3 separate regions of the Homo sapiens genome follow, and all the other regions are linked to region 3. The links are contacts of gene promoters, found by promoter capture Hi-C in blood cells and fetal thymus (Javierre and others, 2016). All regions are on one chromosome and are shown on one strand. The core of a region is centred on a gene start or on the middle of the fragment in contact, and the rest is flanking DNA. Distances in the headings are between cores, read along the strand shown.

Region 1 (3,704 bases), core at 1,146-3,645, 510 kb before region 3:
TCCTGACCTCATGATCCACCCGCCTCGGCCTCCCAAAGTGCTGGGATTACAGGCGTGAGCCACCGCGCCCGGCCTATTCCTCTTATCTAGCTGTAATTTTGTATCCTTTAACAAATCTCTCCCCATCTCCACTCTCCCCTTACCCTTTCCAGCCTCTAGTTCTACTTTTTTTCTTCTATGCAATCAACTTACTTAAAGCTTCCACAAGTGAGTGAGAGCATGCAGTCTTTCTTTCTGTTCATGGCTTATTTCATTTAATGTAGTGTCCTCCAGTTGCATCCGTAATGTGGTGAATGAGAGAAGTTCATTTTTTTAATGGCAGAATAGTTCTATTTTTGAAAGTCTTCTTTCATGTTTGCTTTCCTTTATTCCAACTTACTTCTTACAAATATATCTTACTTGCTGTTTAAGCAAACCTTCTCAATCTTTTCGTCATAGTTTTAAAACTATGAAATTTTGTTGTTTATAGATATGGACTTAGCCAATGGACTTAGATATATGTGTGCTCAGCAGAAAATGACAAAATCGCCCAGTTAAGAAAAATGCTTTACTTTTTTTCCCTTGATGGTAGCTGAGTTACTTATATTGTATTACTAAAAACATGTATATTTGCATGGATAAGCAGTTCCTCTCTCTAAACAATACTTGGCACTCAATAGACATGGGGTAAGCTCAAAGCAGGCATTTTAAAATAAGACCATATGAACAAATGTTATATGTCTATAACTTTCATAATGGAACACTGATGAATGACAGAAATAAACCACACATAATATAACTGATTTGAAAAGAACATTATTTACTAGACTTTTTCTGATATTCATTAACTCTCTTCATGCTCAATGAACAGAAAGTAATTATGTCACTGCTGTGGCATTTTATCAAAAATACGATTGTCTTTCTCTTAGTGTTGAATTTCTCTAAGTAATAGCAGGAATCATGCCACTCCTTTGTTCAAAAGTTTCAAAGATTCTTTTTTTCTATAGAATATAATCAATAACCTGTAGATAAGCCCTGATTACTGTCTGCGTCACTACTCCTATACACTACAAAGTCAAGCCAAAGTAAACCACTCTTTAATATGAAAATACTAGCTGGTTCCAGTTGTTTCTATTTTGATGGATTCCAGCTGGATTTCACTTATTTGTTGGCATATGAATGTCTTACACACACTCAGCAATCATTCCAAGAGCCATCTTGCCCATGAATCCCTTCATAGAAGTCTTGTAGAAGGAATATATTGACAATTTATAATATTGATTTGGATCAAATATGCCTCCAGGCTCTTTAATTACTAGAGCTATATATAGAATCACAGACCTGTGGCTGGAAGAAAGGTAATTTCAGAGGCAATATACTCTAAACTGAATTTTTAAATATAGAAAACCGTGGCATCCCACCCTAATTCCAATATCCTGGGCACACAGTCTATTTAAGATAAAGAGATTTAGTGATAAAATTAGGTAAAGATCTCCTTAAAGTTTCCAAAATAGAAGCCTTTGGCTTGAATTATATATGGTGGATTATATAGGTTGACCATATTAATAGCATATTTAAAAAAAAAACACACACACACATCATGAAATTTTTTGCCTCTGTAGTGAAATAATTCCTCAGGTCTTCCTTCATATGAGTTCACACTTGACATTAAGTATTCAGGTTCAAGTGGATCCCATACTACTATTTTAAAACTTTATCCATAATAAGCCTTTGAGTAAATGCATTATAAAGGAAGTAGCGCTTGAACACGGGCAGGCAGTCATATATGCACAATCTTCTTAGAGTGGAGGTGGATTCAATCTAAGAGTGACATCAGTTATCATTAGTGACACTTTTTCTTGAAATCTACTTCTATGTGAACTCCACACAGTGAACTCTCTTTTGTTTTATACAAGAGGAACTCTAGTAAAAGGTGGTACTATTTTTACCTTATATATGGCTGCACCAATTAGAAAAATTCAGTAAAGCTGTGCAAATCTCATTGGTTGCTAAATTTACATTTTTATCAATTCATCTATTCTGAGTACTTTGTTATTTTTTCCAGATCGGTCTGTGTAATCACCACCATCACAACAAAACACACAGTTTTATTTAAACAGAACAATATATATGGTGTAATGAAAAAAGTTATCCACATGAGAATCTGACAGCAAATACAAAGTGTTCAAATTAATTAGCTGCAGGAGTTTTGATCAATTATCTAACTTAACTGAATCCCAATGTTTGCAAAATGAATTAAACTATTAATTATGTTCAGAAATTAATAGAGAAAGTCATGTAGAGGACTTGTACAGGCAAATTTTCTATCCCTATGTATATCTACCTCTTCTGGAGCAACTCATTTGTCTCTAGGTTTTAAGCACTTACAGGTTTTCCCTAATTAAGATTTTTGTAATGAGTGGATCTTAGGGAGAAAAAATAATTGTTTCAAAAGTGGATCAGCTGCTATGAATTGGGAATGTATCTTATTTGAATAATGATTAATAAAAAAACATTTCATGATGTCAACACACTTGTTTTTCTTGCTTTTTAGGAGCCTAAGTTGCCAAAGGATTACCTTACACAAAAATCTGTTCTTCTCATTTGTTTGTAACTCTGTTGTAACAATCATTCACCTCACTGCAGTGGCCAACAACCAGGCCTTAGTAGCCACAAATCCTGTAAGTAAACCAAGATTGTGCCCTTGGTTCAAGGGCCTAATGGGAAAGGGGGAACATGGCTGATATATGCATAATGTGTATAATTAAGTACACATATATGTATATTTTCAAGTCTGACATATATATATATTTTCAAGTCTTTATATCTTGGGGAATATTGAGAAATATTTACCTTTCTACATTGGAATATAGCTACATATACTCTACAGAGTATTCCCTCAGAGTATTCTCAGTATTCCCCAAGATACAGAGTGAACATAAAAAAGTGTAATAATTTCTTTGCTTCAATTATTTATACATGTACACATATCTTCACTTCATTTTATAGCTGTAGAGTCCTCTTGCTATGGCACATAATAGTTTATCACTACATAATATTTATTCAATCCAAATGAAAAACTCAAAGCAATGAACTCTGCGTAATTCGAAAAATAGTACACGCACATGGAAAATTTAAATAAATTATATTTTTTGTATCAGGCTGACTTTAAAAAGTCAATAAAACCAGGAAAAGAATGAATTGTACATATCCTACATAAGATTAAACTTCATAGCATAATGTTTTAAAAACTACAGTGTTCAGTCTCAATAAATATTTATAAATTGTTGCCTTACAGGCCATATTTTTCAAACAGTTTAAAATTTACTTATCTAAATGTAAATATTTTGTGTAAGCTATATGCATATGTAAAATGTTTAAATTAAAATATCTGCATACATAAACATACATTCAAATTTTAAAAATTATCTGCTTTTATAATGTTTATGGGATATTTACTATATTTTGTGTGTGTGTGTGTCTATATAAAGTGTTTTTTAAAAGAAAAAATTATCTAGTGACTGAAATCAGGAAGGGAAAGAATTTTTACCAAGTGGGTCAATAAACAGTCTCATGTGTGTTTTATGTGTGTTTTTAGAGTAATTTTCAAAATTCTAAAAGTCCCTGCATTGTTTGCACCTGTGCATCCAGATTGCTTAATCTTGTATATGTTCCACTCTAAAGTCATTGGATTAGAAAACACACTGGGGTATAATTAGCAACAT
Region 2 (3,827 bases), core at 1,048-3,547, 550 kb before region 3:
AATGCAAAGAAGATAAAAACTCAATGTAGCCAAAATTCAGAAAATGTTAATTTCTAGTCCTATAAGCATTAAGCCTGTTCCAATGATGATGGTAATAAGTTTAGCTTAGGGTACATGAACTTACCAGATTCCATTCTGAGACATCTGGAAAGGGGGCTAATGAAGAAGTGTGCTTGCTTTTCTAATTTGGACTTTCTGCAGTGGAGAAGAGAGAACTAGACGTTTCTTGAATGGCCTTTCAAAAGTAAGAATAGCTCAAAAGAGGCAGTATATGAAGAGGTGAGAGCAAGATAAGTGATTTTTTTCTTTATTTATTTATTTTTTTTGGCCTAGATATGTTTTCCCTGAATTCTCATGTAATGAGAGAAAAATTAGCCAAATGGTCCACTTTTTCCCGTGAGCTATTAGGTAGTAGGAGACATACACAAAGTCTTCCTGAGCCACAGGAAAAACAACAACAACAACAACAACAACAACAACAAACAGTGTCAGGAGAGATTTGGTTTTAAGGCTATTTTGGCTTTAGGTTACTAGGAGTAAAAACTGTTTCTGTATAACAATCATTTTTTTCTTTTCATATAAATTTTGAACTCTTACCCAAGGCTTAATCCTTTTACCCTAATGCTTTGTTTGATGAGTAGGAAACACCTGGGAAGGCATGGAATTTGCCCAGGTTCAATGAATGACAGAGATGGGACTGAGGAAGACACTAACTTCCTGTTTTAAATGTTGATAAAATCATCCCTCGCTAGAACCTCATGAATGAGTTCCATGGAGAGTGTTTGAAATCAATGAAGTAAGCCTCAAAAGCAGTAGAATACTGTTCTTCAACTTGATAAATACTTTTATTGAGGGCAGAAATCTTAACATATCTCACCACCTTCACCCTACCAAACTAGGTAAAAGTAGATGCTCAATAAATAGGGTAAGGTAACAAATTTAATTTCTAGAAGAAGTTTTCTTCATTTAAAACGCATTTTTTAAAGTGCTAGAAAACGAGACAGTACATGTGTTTTTATTTTGGGACCTTGCCAGAATGGCAAGTATGAGTTGTCAAGCCATTTATTAATGTAAGCTTTGTAAAAGAATCGAATATGACATTGCTAAGAAGAGGAATGAAAAGAAGAAATTGTTGGGAAAAAGTATAAATGTGTTTGATGAGTACAAGTGACATGTAATGAGAAAACTGGTGGTTAAGCAAAATAACTGAATAAGCAAAATAGAAATGTGTCCTTCACTTTATGCAAATAAACAACTCCATTGTCCGAGTCAGTATGATACAGGGCAAAGGGTAGAAATTTAAGGTCAGAAAACCTGAGTTCTGAGCTTGGAGTCAGACCTAAGCATCTTTGTGACTTTGGCCAAGTCACAATTTGCATGCTGGATTTGCCTGGTTTGTTCAGTCAACATGATTACTGCCATGACTAACAGAATTATAGAGGGATACAGAAAATAGCAATAGCTAATGCTTATTGTGTATTTATTATTAAGCAAGTTTTTTATATCTAGCATGTAATTTAACACTTAAAATAATCCGACAAGGTGAGCTATGATAAAAGTTATAGGCAACATTGATTTAGCCAGGCATTGATTAGCATTATCTCATTTACTGGTCACATTAACCTTCTAAAAACAGCCACTACTTTTATGCAAATTTTCAGGTTAGAAAATCGGTTGAGAGAGTTTAAGTGTATAAGAACTGGCATTAAAGATATGTTTCTTTGACTTTAGTGTGTGTCTTCTAATAAGTATGCAACAGAAAACAGGAAGCTCAATTAACGATCAAGTTTTATACTCATTATCTAGTTGAGTAAACCAAGCAGAAAATAGTTGAGTTGATTTTCTTAAAATTACACAGCAATTTAGAAGCAGCTTAGAAGAAACACTTCTAGCTAATGGGATTGTCTTGCAGGAGGATGAATGTATTGTTAAGGTTAAGAGGAATGACTGGCTAGTTGGGAAGCAGAGTTACTACTTTGGTTTGATGGAAAAAAATGTAATTTTTGTCAGGTAAGGATTTTTATTAGTTTTCTATCCTAGCTGTACCAAATGACCATAAATTTAGTAACTTAAAACAACATTTATTTACTATCTATCTCACAGTTCTATTGGTCAGTTCTGTTGCCTTGGCTTGTTTCTTTGTTTCAAGTGTTACATGGTCAAAATAAAAGTAATGGCAGGGCTGCATTCCCTTTTGTAGACTCTGGGGGAGAACCTGCCTCCATACTCATTCAGGTTGTTGGCAGAATTCAATTCCTTGTGGTTGTAGGACTGAAGTCCCCATTTCCTTGCTGGCTTGAGGCCACTTTCTAGTCCTTGCATGTGGGCTCCACAGCAGAGTCAGCAACAAGGAATCAACTCTTTCTCAGGCTTTCATCTTTTCTGCTTCCCCTTGTGCTGCATCTCTTTGACCCTTCACCCTTTCTTTTCTTCTTTTAAGAGCTCAATTTATTATTTGCAACTAACCTGGATAACTCAAGATAACCTAGGTCAATCATTCTATTTTAAGATCCATAACCTAAATCATAGCTGTAATCAAAGATTCTGGTGAATAGGGCATGGAAAGTTTTGTATGCCTATCATTCTGCCTACCACATGAATCTTCTATCTATTCCAGGTATCCTCAACCCTAGCTATATATTAAAATCACCTGGGAAACTTGAAAAAATGCTTGTTCCTGGTCCCCAAGCAAGATGACCTGAATCAGAAATTTTTGGAGTAGAATCGAGGCAATGATCTTTTTTTATGACTCAGAAAATTATAATAGGCTTGAAAGGGTTAGGAATAACTAAAAACATCAGGTTTCTTCAACTTGATTAAATTTATTTCATAAGCAATCTACTTTAAAAACACTTTCTGTATACCCTCTTTATGTGATCACTTTGTTAGGGTGTGTAGCCCCGGAGATGAATATGCTGCCTGCCCTATTCTTACTGTGCTCACAATCTCATGGCAGAGACACATAAAGAAATAATTATAAGATTACATGGTATGTTTTAAAATAGATATTTGAATAACTTGCTTTGGGAGTTCTGTGACATTAATAATGCCTGGGAACACTGCAGAATATTTTGCTTGATTTATACTTTATAGTTGCTTTTAAAATAGTCTGGCTAGTAACTAGAAACAGTGAAATACAAATGTGTTCAGGTTTCGGCATGTCCCAGTGAGGATGAAGTATTTATATTGTGCTTCCCCAAGTATAACAGGCCAAGAATTTACTTGGGTGCTTACTAAACATGCAGGTTCCTAAATTCTTCTCCAAAAGGTTCTGTTCCAGAGCGTCCTTTGTGGGGCCTGGCCATTTTAACATTTTCACCAAGTTTTGGGGGTGATTCTGATGCAGGTGGCCCACAACCTCACACTTTGAGGACATGGTGTTTACTACATCAGTGATTTGGCACCTGCTCACTCAATAGCTTAAAAAATAATGCATGACTCAAATGACATCCTAAAGAGGACATACAGCTTGAGTTATAATCTTATATCCGTAACATGTCTTCAGGAAAGTAAAGCTTCTTTATGTTTTGTTTCACTAACTGCTTTATATATTAAAAGTGTGAGTGACATTCCAAGCTAGGTTGAAGTGGGCACTAAAACCTTACACTGGAATTTCTTTTTCATACTTTATTGGAGGCCAGGTGCAGGAGCTCAAGCCTGTAATCCCAACAATTCGGGGAACCAAAGTGAGAGGATTACTTGAGACTAGGAGTTCAAGGCACCAGTGAGCTATGATTGTACCACTGCACTTCAGCTGGGGCAGAGTGACATCCTGTCTCTAAAAAAATAATAATAAATAATAAAAAGACTCTATTGGAAGTAAAGAT
Region 3 (3,868 bases), core at 1,218-3,717:
TTTTAATACCTGTCTTTCATGACAATTGTATTGCTAAAGAGGCTAAAAATTAATCCAAGAAACTCAGGTTTATTGATCCATGAAACTCAAGCATCTTTTTTTTTTTTTTTTTTTTTTTGAGACAGGGTCTTACTCTGTCACACAGGCTGGAGTGCAGCAGCACAATCTCTGCTCACTGCAACCTCCACCTCTCAGGCTCAAGTGATCCTCACACCTCAGCCTCCCAAGTAGCTGGGACTACAGCCACGCATCACTACGCCCAGCTAATTTTTGTATTTTTTGTAGAGACAGGGTTTTGCCATGTGGCCCAGACTGGTCTCAAACTCCTGAGCTCAAGCAATTCCCCCAGCCTTGACCTCCCAAAATGCTGGGATTACAGGCATGAGCCACCGCACCCAGCCCACAGCTTTGTTTTTTGCAGTAATCACCTCCCTCTCACATGGGGAAATATGCCACAAAATATACCTGAAGGAGGATATTTAATTCTCCAATTTAATATTTTCAAAATATTACCCCTATCACACACTCTTAAGAGATGAAGCAAACATATGGGATAGTCACCTGACTATAAAAATGTTTTTAAAGTCATAACTGACAGATATCAAAACAAATATCTTACAAATAGAATGAAGTTCTGTCTAGCAATCTGTGCTTTCACTTTTTAACTTCTATGAAAGCATAAACACCATTATTTTTACCATCCCCCAAAATGGAATTTATGAACCTATATTCCATTGATATAATGACTATTGTGTCTTAAACATGCGACCCTTTGAAAATGTTTATCACTTATACATGGAGCAAGTAAACAAGTATCACTAGCTATAACTAAAACACAACAGCTTTAACAATTTTTGCTGTTTGCTTTTAAAAATTTTATAACTTTATTTTATATGTACACACATGTATATAAAGAGAGAGAGAAAAAAAATTGATGGTTGAATAAAATGTCCTCACTCTGAAGCCCAACTCATCATATTATATAGCAAATATGGAGTCATTAATTTATTGAGTTTTTAAAATTATACATATCAATATGTAAAATAATTTAATCCAATTTATAATTTCTTTTGCTCTTGATATGTGAGTTTTTTTCTAATGTTATAATGTATTTCTTTAACATCTAGTACCATTAAATTGATTCTAAAGTTGGGAGTATGGTAGTATGAATGTGAGTTGTTATTAGTCAGAATAGGAGAATAAAAATAAAATTTAGTAAATTAAAACCTTAGACCTTAGACCTAAGACTTTAAGGGTTGGATGATGTTTATCCAGGTGTCTCACCTGTGAAAGCTGCCATTACCATCATCTTCTTTCATCTTTTGCCCTTGCCATTTTCTGAGAACTCTCCTGCTGTTGACATAATCTAGTTATGATTTCTGCCCATGATAAAATAGGACAAATATGCTCTATCTTTGGCCACCAAGGCAAAGGTTACTGGACCTCCAAGTAGTGCTATCTCCTGCTTTTAATTTCCTATAGAGATTCTAGTAATGTGGCTTCTTTTTTCAGTAATTATGACTCAAAATGTTGACCCATACTTTATTACAGTTTTCCCCCTAAAATGTGGTAAACAAACCTCAGAGACAATTTAAATTATTGGAGGTACAAACATTGCATACCTTGAAACTCTTATTCCTTAGTATACAGATTTGTAAGTTTCATGTACCCATAGTCAATGGATTCTGTGCCACCATTCAGGACGTACCACCATCCACCATTCTGGCTGTACCATCCCCAACACCCACCCCTACCCAAACATGCAATTAAAAAATGTTCCCTCACTTGGAAGACCATTTCCCCTCCAACACACACACACACACACACACACACAGAGAGAGAGAGAGAGAGAGAGAGAGAGAGAGAGAGAGGCAGAGAGAAATGACTTAAGGATCTGGTTTCCTCCCAAGTAGCTGGGACTACAGCCGGCGCCACTACCGGTGATGCACTTCCTAGGGTTTAGAACTCCTGTCTTCTACATCTTTCCCCCAGAGACTCAGTCAATCTATGCATATAGTGAGCAATCAGAAAATGTTCGTGGAATATTGTGGAACGTCAAAAATCACTCTGGGCTCTGTAACCTCGGCTTTCTGTTAAAGATGATGAATCATCACAGGATAATTTCAGCATCCAGAGCCCAGACTGCAATCGGGTTTGCAACTGTCCTAACAAGTAGATTTCACCATCTCTGCCCCGAGGAAGCAGAAGGAACGCAAGAAAATTGACAGCTATGCCTTCGGCCTCCAGCTTCCAAGTCGGCCAGATGATTATTAAAAACACTCCTCAGTCAAGGGCGTCGCTTCGAAACGCAGTGGAGGCTGGGGAGAGTTGCAGAATCCATGCCATCCCGCACCTTTGTCGCCCGCTCTTCTTCGGCGCAGGGCACACCGGGACACCCCGAGCCCAACCACCGTCACCAAGGCAACCAGCCTGCACGCCGTCGTCTTGGAGACCGGCTGGCGCCTCAGTGAGCCGAGCAGAGGGGCCGCCTCCGCCCGCACCCAGCATGCTTCGCCGAGGCTATAAGGCCTCTGAAAGGCGAAGACACTTGAGCGAGAGGCTCAGCTGGCACCAAGACCAGGCGCTGAGTAGCAGCATCTACCTCCTACGAGAGATGGGCCCCACTGGCTTCCTGCTGAGGGAGGAGGAGCCGGAATACATGGATTTCCGAGTAACTACCGCCCCTACCGCCCCCAGTTGGCCATCATCCCCGCCCACCAGGTTCCCCCACTGGCATACCCAATGTGCGTAGCCACCATCACAATCTCTGCGGATACTTGCTGCCTCACCCCCGAAAGCGCCTTCCCACGAGTGTTCCAGACTCTAAAATACGTGAAATTACAGAAGGAAATAGTATTTATTAGAAGTTTCTTTTTTGGAGGTTAAGACCAAACTGCAACTCTTGTAAAAGATGATGGCTCTTGATCTTTAGGCTTGAAAATGTCAGAGGCGTATGAATACCTGGTTGGCATTACATGTGTTCTTGGATCTGTTGTTAGTGGTCCTTAGTCCTGTAAATCAAACGAAATGAAAATTCTACAATCTGCTAGCATACTGTAAATATTTTCTAAATAAATAAATAGGTTTCCCTTTACTCTTTGCTCACTCTGAAACTGTATGAAGGCCCTATTAAAGGATGGTTTAAATGGCAATACCTTGGAAAGATATTAATGAATAAAAATTCAAGTTTACTGAAAGACCACAGATATTTCATAATTGCATATCCCATCCTTAACCACTCAAAAATTAGCCACTGCACTACCTCCTAGGAGTTGACTTACAAAATTTTACGTTAGTGCCGTGAAGTTTAAGAATTGAATGCAATTTACTAGTCTGTGCTTATTTAAAGCATCTTTTTTTACTTTGTTGCTTCAATACTTACTGTATTTAATAGTTTTAGCCAAACTAGTCTTGGTGAATAAATTTTGTCCTCTTGAATAAAATTAAATAAATTCACCGACTCAAATGCACCAAACAAAAATCCAAAATGAGCTACCTTACAAAAGGTGCTTAGCTCCACCCCAAAGTAGAATTTCCTTACTGTGAGGAATTTATGGGTTGATATTTGCTTTTTTTCTTCTCTGACTTTGGGAATTAGATTTATTTTCACCTGCCTAAGGGCAGGTCACTTTAAAACCATCCTAATTTGTTAATTTGCTAACAAAGATAAATAATGAAGCCTAGAGACTAGTATCAAGAATTAAGATTCTCCAGTAGAATCTATTCAACCTTTTTGAATCACCTAAACTAAATTACCTCTTCAAATCTCTTTTATTAACTCAGTTTTGCTCTAACTCTCAAATTTTACTGGTCTTTTTAAGTATGCATTTTTCCTTTAAAGGTTTTTCTAGGAAATCCTCACGTTTGT

What was found. The method cuts DNA at HindIII sites, captures the fragments that hold promoters and counts their contacts. A CHiCAGO score of 5 or more calls a contact.
Region 1: a contact is called between a fragment that was not itself captured here and the fragment with the promoter of ZSWIM2 in region 3, in 1 of 17 cell types (monocytes). The highest score is 5.7, in monocytes.
Region 2: a contact is called between a fragment that was not itself captured here and the fragment with the promoter of ZSWIM2 in region 3, in 5 of 17 cell types (monocytes, M2 macrophages, M0 macrophages and 2 more). The highest score is 5.5, in monocytes.

Annotation. Positions count from the first base shown.
Region 1 is chr2:187,362,332-187,366,035 of GRCh38, reverse strand. CALCRL (calcitonin receptor like receptor) reads left to right here. Exons shown (of 15, transcript NM_005795.6): 9 at 2,534-2,660. All of the region lies in intron 2 of CALCRL-AS1 (CALCRL and TFPI antisense RNA 1), which reads right to left. Among named protein-coding and RNA genes, the nearest start is that of CALCRL, 84 kb to the left of the region's middle. The HindIII fragment of the contact is 4,390 bases long and covers 201-3,704 here.
Region 2 is chr2:187,392,677-187,396,503 of GRCh38, reverse strand. The region is part of intron 1 of CALCRL (calcitonin receptor like receptor); the gene reads left to right. All of the region lies in intron 2 of CALCRL-AS1 (CALCRL and TFPI antisense RNA 1), which reads right to left. Among named protein-coding and RNA genes, the nearest start is that of CALCRL, 54 kb to the left of the region's middle. The HindIII fragment of the contact is 2,440 bases long and covers 1,078-3,517 here.
Region 3 is chr2:186,847,769-186,851,636 of GRCh38, reverse strand. It overlaps ZSWIM2 (zinc finger SWIM-type containing 2), which reads left to right and starts at 2,467. Exons shown (of 9, transcript NM_182521.3): 1 at 2,467-2,671; 2 at 3,842-3,868. The coding sequence starts at 2,507. The HindIII fragment of the contact is 8,021 bases long and covers 1-3,868 here.